Linked DNA regions of Homo sapiens: region 2 is linked to region 1. The links are contacts of gene promoters, found by promoter capture Hi-C in blood cells and fetal thymus (Javierre and others, 2016). All regions are on one chromosome and are shown on one strand. Each heading gives the region's core, a stretch centred on a gene start or on the middle of the fragment in contact. The rest is flanking DNA. Distances are from core to core; before and after follow the strand shown. Region 1 holds the start of KRTAP10-4 (keratin associated protein 10-4). Region 2 has its middle 28 kb from the start of TSPEAR.

Region 1 (4,461 bases), core at 1,513-4,012:
GTCTGTTCACCCATGAGGTTTGCCCCCTCACCCACCCTGGGACGTCCGTGTGTCTGTTCACCCATGAGGTTTGCCCCCTCACCCACCCTGGGACGTCCGTGTGTCTGTTCACCCATGAGGTTTGCCCCCTCACCCACCCTGGGACGTCCGTGTGTCTGTTCACCCATGAGTTATGCCCCCTCACCCACCCTGGGACATCCGTGTGTCTGTTCACCCATGAGTTATGCACTCCCTTCCACTCCGGGACTGTGACTCCGTGTGGCCAGTGCTCTGGGTCTGTCCTCACAACTCCACCTCCACTGCGGCTGAGTTCCCGGGCCACCCTCTGACACCTGTGCATGGAAATTCTTTCTGATCTTATCGTCATTGCTTTATGAGTATGTTTTATAACCATTGGAATAGTTGGCACTTCTTCCAGTGGTTACAACACATCATTATTCCAAATATAATTTTTAAAGACTTCTTAAAATGCCCAAAACTCCTCAGACCATCCTGCTCTGGGCAGTCCGCTGGCCCTGGGCTCATGGTGGTCACACGTGCTCTGTCTGTCGTTCTTGCCACTCCATTTGGAAACCTGAAAGAGGGAGTCCTACTTCCCTGACCTTAGAGAGGCCGGAGGGTCGAGGAGATGATTCTGCTCACACAGGGTGGAAGCGAAGCGACAGAGACCCAATTCCAATCGCCTGTCTGTGTTCCTCCCACCATGCCAGTGATGTCTGCACAGGGCACAAGAGGTTTTAGGCAATGTCGATGAAGACTACTGATTTTGAAGCTAGGGAGGCATTTGGACACACTCTGGGCAAGCATGGCGCTAGAAGACACCATTCTTATTTGACAAGTATTGTGCAGCAGAAGGATAATTTAAAAAGCAAATCAGCAAAAAGAACTATGACACGACTAACAACACAGGAGGGTTAGGGACAAACCCAAGGGCCCGAAATGGCCAAAGGGCTGCAAGGCTCCCCGCGTCCATGTCCGTCTAGCCTGGACCCCTGGGAACCACACGCCCCTGGGCACAGGAAAACACTCAGGGGCCTGAAGGACAGCAGAGGGTTGTGCACAAAGGAGAAAACCATGGCCGTGAGCTCCAGCCAAGGCATTAATCAACACACCTGGGTGTCAGCGCCATTGCAGTCTCAGGGCCTTTATTGGTCAGCTTGAGGGCGTCCAAAGAAGGCTCTGCGGCTCTGAGCCAGGAGGACAGAGACCTCACGGGTCAAGGCTGAACTGACCCTCATGAGAGGTGGGAGATATGGAGGGGAGGCCACTGCCATGGGAACTTTCTAGAAGCGCCCCCCTCCCCCCGCAAGAGGGCTGCAGCATTGAGTATAGACTTTCAGTTCTTCCATTGTCCAGCTCAACAGCAGACACCAGGAAATGGTCAAAGTGCAGGAGCAATTCAGGACGCGACTATCAGCTTTCAGGTGGGACCTGAGCCTGGCTGGCACTGGGGGGCGTGTCCATCAGCAGCTGGGCTTCTGACCTGAGCGGAGGCCTCAGCAGGCTGGGCGGGAGCACACGGGGCGTCAGAGGAGGGACACGCAGGAGGCTGGGCGGCAGCAGCTGGGTTGGCAGGAGGAGGTGGGAGCACAGCAGGAAGGGACGGGCACGCAGCAGGCGGGCCTGCACACGGGGCGGCAGAGGAGGGACACGGAGGAGGAGGGTCTGCAGCAGGAGGTGGTGCAGCAAGCTGGCTGGCAGCTAGATTGCTGGCAGCATGAAGAGGAAGCCCCAGAGCAAACAGGCACACAGCTCACAGGCTTGCAGCAGACGGGCACGCAGCAGCCCTGCTGGCTTTGGGAGGAGGTGCAGCAAGCTGGCTGGCAGCTAGACTGCTGGCAGCACAGAGAGGAAGCCCCAGAGCAGATGGGCACAGAGCAGACAGGCTTGCAGCACACAGGCTTGCAGCAGACAGGCACACAGCAAGCCTGCTGGCAGGGAGAGGAGGTGCAGCAAGCCGGCTGGCAGCTAGACTGCTGGCAGCATGAAGAGGAATCCTCAGAGCACACAGGCTTGCAGCAGACAGTCTTGCAGCAGACGGGCACGCAGCAGGCCTGCTGGCAGGAGGAGGAGGTGCAGCAAGCCGGCTGGCAGCTAGACTGCTGGCAGCACGAGGGCGTGCAGGAGCTGATGCAGCCTGATTGGCAGGGGCTGGGCTCACAGACCGCCTGGCAGCAGGGGCTGGACACACAGCTCACACAGCTAGACTGCTGGCAGCACGAAGAGGAAATCCCAGAGCAGACAGGCTTGCAGCAGATGGGCACACAGCAGGCCTGCTGGCAGGGGGAGGAGGTGCAGCAAGCTGACTGGCAGCTAGACTGCTGGCAGCATGAAGAATCCCCACAGCAGACGGGCACACAGCACACAGGCTTGCAGCAGACAGTCTTGCAGCAGACGGGCACGCAGCAGGCCTGCTGGCAGGGGGAGGAGGCACAGCAAGCCAGCTGGCAGCTAGACTGCTGGCAGCACGAGGGCGTGCAGGAGCTGGTGCAGCCTGATTGGCAGGGGCTGGGCTCACAGGTCACTGGGCAGCAGGGGCTGGACACACGGCTCACTGGGGTGCAGACCAGGCTCAGGCAGGGGGCCGGGGCGCAGCAGCTGGGGGCGCAGCAGGGGGGCTCGCAGCAGCTCTCTGGGCAGTCGTCCACCTGCCAGGAGTCGGAGCAAGAGTCACAGGAACCAGGAAGGCAGACGCGGCTGCTGTAGCTCAGGTCGCTGGAGCAGACGGACATGGTGGATGCTGCTGTGCTGGGGGTTGAGCTGGGGGAGATGGGAGGGAGTGGGTGAGCGAGTGAGTGAGGTGCTCGGGTTTGTGGGGCTTTTATACTCCTCCTTGGTGCATGTTGTCCAGACAGGAGGCTCAGCAAGCCCTCCCTTCCTTGTTGGGGTGTACAGCCAGCTCCAGGAGAATAAACAGTAGCTGTGTTTTTGTTTCCCAAGAGCTGTTGCTCAGTTTACAAAACTTGGAATTGGCCTGGGGCGCATGTGCGTGTTTTAGACTCAGGAGGAAGAGCTGAGGGGCAGTTCAGGCTGTGCTGCTTTGCTCCCCAGGCGCACGTGGAGGGTGGCATGGTCCACGTGTGTGCCGGGCTATGGGGAGTGGGTGCCTGCGGGTGGCTCTGCCGTGTGTGTGCTGGACTATGAGGAGTGGGTGCCTGTGGGTGGCTCTGCCGTGTGTGTGTGCCAGGCTATGGGGAGTGGGTGCCTACGGGTGGCTCCGCTGGGCCTTGGTTTTCTAGGCTGCTGAACAAGATCATGTGCCTCTGTGATTGAAAGCTTAGGGAGAGAGGTTTGTTTGGGTTCTAAGTAAAGATAATGTGAGTCATGGTTTGTATGCTGTAATGTATTCTTTTCCTTGGGCTGCCATGACAAACAGTACCACAAACTGGCTGGTCACACAACAGAAATTCCGTGTCTCATGGTTTTGGAAGCCAGAAGTCTGAGATCGAGGTGTGGACAGTGGACAGCATGGGTTCCTTCTGAGGCTGCGAGGGGCACTGTCTCACCCCGCTCCCCTCACTCCTGTGGGCTGCTGCTATCTTTGGGGTCCTTGGCTTACAGTGGCCTCACCTGAGCTCTGCCTTTATCTTCACACAGCTTCTCCGTGTGTGTGTGTGTGTGTGTGTGTGTGTGTGTGTGTGTGTGTGTGTGTGTGTCCAAATCTCCCCTTTTTATAAGGATACAAAGCATTATTGCAGTAGGGCCTATCCTAACAGCCTCCTCTTAACTTGATCACCTACAAAGACCCTATTTCCATATAGGGTCACATTCACATGTACCAGCGGTCAGGACTTCGGCACCTTTTGAGGGACACAATTCAATCCACAGCAAGCAGACACAATGGCAGAACCTGGGATGAGGACGTGGGCACGGGAGCAGAACCCGGGATGGGAAGGCAAGCACGGCAGAAGTGTTTCTTGTGGACTTGGGCCTGGGGCAGGTGGAGCATGGGGGGTGGCGAGGGTAGCACAGGACAGCAGGTGCCCAGCACTGGGCACTCAGCAGCCTTTGCTTGTGAGGTGTGGCTTGACCTCGTGGAATGGTTTTAGGGAATAGTGGCTGAAAAGCGGGGTTCACATCGCCCTTTGCCAGCTTCCCGACACCACCGCAGGTTGGTTCCCAGCTCTGAGAAAGCAGCGCTGCTCTGTTTCTTCTCAGCCAGGACGGTCTTTAGGCAGCTGCACCAACTTCCGGTGGGTCCTGCTCAGGACCCCACATGGCGTTGGCTGAAAGGTCTCCTCGACTTCTCTGGTTTGTGACGGTTGCCCAATCTCTCCTTGGCCTCAGCGACCTTGACCGGTTGGGTGTTTTGTAGAATGCCCCTCCACGTGGACTTGCTTGAGGTTTCCTCGTGGTCAGAGTGGGCATCGCGTTGGGGGAGGAATCCCACAGGAGCAGTGTGCGTGGGGCATGGAGGTGACACGGCCGCGGCCCATCCCTCGCGGTGCCGCCGTTTCCCTC
Region 2 (4,362 bases), core at 306-2,805, 170 kb before region 1:
AATGGTGAAGGCTAAACCAAAGCACTGCCATGTCGCTACAGGTCATGCTCCCAAGGACATAAAACAAGATGGAGGCCTGCAGCAAAGTTTGCTACTGACCATACAGAAAGACATGCAGAGCACACCAGATTGGCTGTAGCTTAAGACCAACTCACAAATCTTTCCTTCCTTCCTTCCTTCCTTCCTTCCTTCCTTCCTTCCTTCCTTCCTTCCTTTCTTTCTTTCTGTCTCTCCTCTCTCTCATCTTTCTCTCTCTTCTCTCTTTCCTTCTTTCTTTCCTTCCTTCTTTCCTTCCCTCCCTCCCTCCCTCCTCCTTCCTTCCTTCCTTCCTTCCTTCCTTTCTTTCTGTCTCTCCTCTCTCTCATCTTTCTCTCTCTTCTCTCTTTCCTTCTTTCTTTCCTTCCTTCTTTCCTTCCCTCCCTCCCTCCCCCTTCCTTCCTTCCTTCCTTCCTTCCTTCCTTCCTTCCCTCCTTCCTTCCTTCCTTCCTTCCTTCCTTCCTAGTTTTTTACTCTTGTTGCCCAGGCTGGAGTGCAGTGGCGCAATCTTAGCTCACTGCAACCTCTGCCTTCTGGGTTCAAGTGATTTTCCTACCTCAGCCTCCTGAGTAGCTGGGATTACAGGTGCGCACCACCATGCCCAGCTAATTTTTTGTATTTTTAGTAGAGACAGGATTTCATCATGTTGGCCAGGCTGGTCTTGAACTCCTGACCTTAGGTGATCCACCCACCTCGACCTCCCAAAGTGCAGGGATTACAGATGTGAGCCACTGCAGCTGGCCTACAAATCCTTTTTCATAATTAAAACTTTACAGAGAAAAACAGTGATAGCTAGGGTTCTGGCCTACTAAAGTGCTTTCTAAAAGGGGGAAAAAAACCCTCTCACTTAAAAGTTAACTCCTGACCTGGTGGAGAAAAGAAAAAAAGCTTAAAGTGCAGGGTTGGAAAGATGCCTTGGGAAAGAACCTCTTATTCTTATACAAATAGTTTCCTCCAACAGGGAGAGAAACTTACTGCTGTTTCTTCCCTAGGGCTTGAATGGAGCTGGACTCCTCAGTCATGGAATGAGGAGACACCATGGACATATGGTGGGGAATGCTGGCCAGCCTGCCACATGCAGCCTTTGAGCTATGCACCCCAGCCCCAGCTGGGAGGGGAGGCCAGGCGGGCGGGGAGTTGCCGCTTGCCCATCTGTCCCAAACAATGAAGGAAAATGCCATAGAAAGTCTGGGTCGGACCGAGGCCGACATTCTTGACCCCTGGGAGTGGCAAGGGTGGGGGCCTGTTTCCTTTACCTTCAGAAGAAGTCTGAGGACAAATAGGCTCAAAAACAAAAGGGAAAAAGATGTTTTGGTCCGCATTTACTCACCTTTGCTCGTGTCCCTGTATGGGCCACCAAAATGATGCAGGATTTTTACTCCTTAGCTCAGCTAAAACCTGGGTTCTTGTCCCATTACCAGGAAAAAATTAGGCACGTGGACATGTTGAAAGGTGAGATTTATTAAAAGAAAGCTCTTGGCAAAAATAAAATGAGGTCCTGCCAACAGGGTCGCACCTCACAGATTGAATTCCAGGCCACCACATACAAGCCGAAGAGGCCAGGCTCCTCCCCGCTGCACAAGGCATGCACTTCCCATGCCTCCACCCCATTCTCCCAGTGCACAGGGGGGCCCCCAGTCCGTTGCAAGCATGTGCAGACAAGACTCTGGGCAGGTTCCCTCATCTACACAAAAGTATCTGATATAAACACTTGTGGGGTGGGCTGGAGATTCTGTGGGGACCCTCACTTACCTGCCTCCTGCATCTGTCATCATTTTGTGATAGAATGAAACTGAGCCCTGCAGAAATTAAAAAGCAAAGAGATAATAATGTCTTGGCCATTAATAAGTCTGGAGCTTAGGATGAGTATTTTGAAAACTGTGCTAAATGTCTTATTTAAGCTAGAATTGGCATTGTGTTGTTGTTCATGTGATCTAAGTCAAGTCAGGACTGATAGGACCGAATGGACAAGTGGAAACATAGCAGCTGGGCAGCAAGAAGAAAGACTTGTGTCCAAATGCAAAGTGACTCTGGATTTATAGTATGCACTACAGTCTACTGCTGTGTAACAAACTGTCCCCAAACAGTAGCTTAAAACAGCCAAATGTATTATGCCACACAGTTTCTAGGAGTCAGGGACTAGAAGCTTAGTTGGTGGTTCTTGTTCAGAACATCTTATGAGGTTGCAGTTAGATGTTGGCTGGGGATGCATCATCTGCAGTGTTTAAAAGGAGTGTCACTTTTAAGAAAGCTTCCTCACAGGGCTGGCAGTCAGTTTGTGCTTTAGTTCTGTACCATATGGCCTGTCCAGCAGGATAGCCTGGACTTTTTTACATGGCAGCTGGGCTCTGAGAGATGGGGGAGAGGAAGAAAGAGAGGGAGAGGGAGTTCTGATGTGTGTCCTTTTCCTTAAAGATTTATTACTGGTCCATCAGAAGGAAATGTGAAACTTCCCACTTCCTCCTCCTTGAGATGCTACAAATATACAACTGACCTTGGGGCTGAGGTGCAGGGGCAGAAGTGGAGCTCTCATGGCCCAGAACAGAGAGGATGCAGAGCGGCATTTCACAGCATGCTGTTTGGGTAACATGATACCCTAGGTCTAGGAGCAATAGATGCATAAATGGATGGCTGGGCAGGTGGATGGACAGAGGGAGGGACACTGAAGCTTGTCCCAGGTGTCTCCTACATGGACTTGGGATCTACACTGCCATCTTTGCTTTCTTCCTACATTGTCATTGCTTGAACAGGACTGCCCCAGGAGAAATGTGTTTTTTGGCAAGTGCAGGGGCTAGAAAAGGAGCAGTTAAGGATAACAGCCACTGTACCCACTCTACCTTCAGAGCACCCTATTGCGGCCTCAACATCCCTTTTTTAATGCCAACTTTTCACTTTACATTTCAAGAAAATAATATGTCTCTTAAAGCTCTTGGGCCTGGATCCTCTGAGGACTGCATGCCCTTGAGAGAGTGGGGCTAGCCCCTGGTTGAAGACCTTTTTTCTAAGGTTGCTATCGATTCACTCCCCTTGCATCTCTTAAGTCTGGTATAGTTGTCCCTCCTTTCTTGCTCCTCTCTCACTGGGATTATTGCCACTGCCTCTGTGGGGATGTATATGGTTTTGGCCTGTCCAGCACCCACTCATCTTTCCCCTGCTAACAGCTGCCTGGCTGGCCTTGGGGCCTATGCCATTCAGGGGACTTGGGGCTCCTGGCTCCAGGACAGGAGAAAGCTTGGAAACATGGTGTATTCCTCTTGATTTCATGTGTGCTGAGTGGAAAGGTAAGGCTCGTCAGGGTTTCCCAGGTCAGAGGCTGACCCCTGTGGAGGACACCAGGCAGCTGCTGCTCAGAGGTCTCTGCAGGAAGGACAGAGAGCCCAATTAGCTGGTGCTTGCCAGACCAAGGCCTTGACTCAGATTGAGTATTTTGAGTAGCGATGCGGGAACATGATTTAGAGTTGCATAGAGTGATGATGACTTCCTCCAATCCATTTCTGCCAGCTGCTGGATTCATACATCCTTCGAAAGATGGTTGTTTGCCATCTTTGCTTCTCTTAATGATCTATCTGGGATCTTGTGTCATGGAAAATGTCCAGATGTATCGTCTTCATTTGAGTGGCTGCATAGTGTCCCTTGAATTGGCATCCCAACCTTTACTCAGTCCCCTCTGTATTGACAGCCAATTTGTTTCCATCTTCTGTTCTTAAACAGCACTGCCATAATATTTTGGTTCTCATGTTGTTATATGTATGTGGAGGTAAATCTGTATATATAAAAAAAAAGTCCCAAACAGGAATCACTGGGTCAGAGGTATTGCCATTTTAAATACTGAGAGATTGCCCCCAAATAAACATGACTTGTACATTCCACCAGGTGCATAAGAGCCATGTTGCCTTTCATAAACAAAGAAAACATTTGGTTCTGGTTCTGCCTTCATGACAGTTTGTGGTGAGCTCTTAAGGCCTCTAATGAGCTTTCTGGTGAATGTCGGCTCCTTTGCGAGCATATCTTGATTGAGAATCTCCTGCACTCTCCTTTTTGGATGCTCTGGCATCCACCAGCATGTTCTCTGCCTGAAACTCCTGTCCCCCTTGTTTTTCCACCCCAAAACCCCTTCTTCAAAACCTGTCTTATGCACCCTGTCTTTCAGGAAGCCCTCCCTGCCACGCCCAGGCTGAGTCTCTTGTCTTCCATGCTCTGAGGTTCTTCCTCCATCTTTGGATTCAAACTCCACTGTTCAAGTGGGCTGTTAGAAGAAGCAGGCTGCCTGTTTAATGGATGAGGGCTGGGCTGAGAGGGGAGACAATTTGGGGGAAATCATTTATT

What was found. The method cuts DNA at HindIII sites, captures the fragments that hold promoters and counts their contacts. A CHiCAGO score of 5 or more calls a contact.
Region 2: a contact is called between a fragment that was not itself captured here and the fragment with the promoter of KRTAP10-4 in region 1, in 1 of 17 cell types (total CD8 T cells). The highest score is 5.6, in total CD8 T cells.

What each region holds. Positions count from the first base shown.
Region 1 is chr21:44,572,030-44,576,490 of GRCh38, reverse strand. It overlaps KRTAP10-4 (keratin associated protein 10-4), which reads right to left and starts at 2,762. Exons shown (of 1, transcript NM_198687.2): 1 at 1,120-2,762. The coding sequence starts at 2,732. The coding sequence ends at 1,527. All of the region lies in intron 1 of TSPEAR (thrombospondin type laminin G domain and EAR repeats), which reads left to right. RefSeq lists enhancers at 1,511-2,029, 2,030-2,547. The HindIII fragment of the contact is 4,220 bases long and covers 1-3,278 here.
Region 2 is chr21:44,737,739-44,742,100 of GRCh38, reverse strand. No RefSeq gene overlaps it. Among named protein-coding and RNA genes, the nearest start is that of TSPEAR, 28 kb to the right of the region's middle. The HindIII fragment of the contact is 1,258 bases long and covers 927-2,184 here.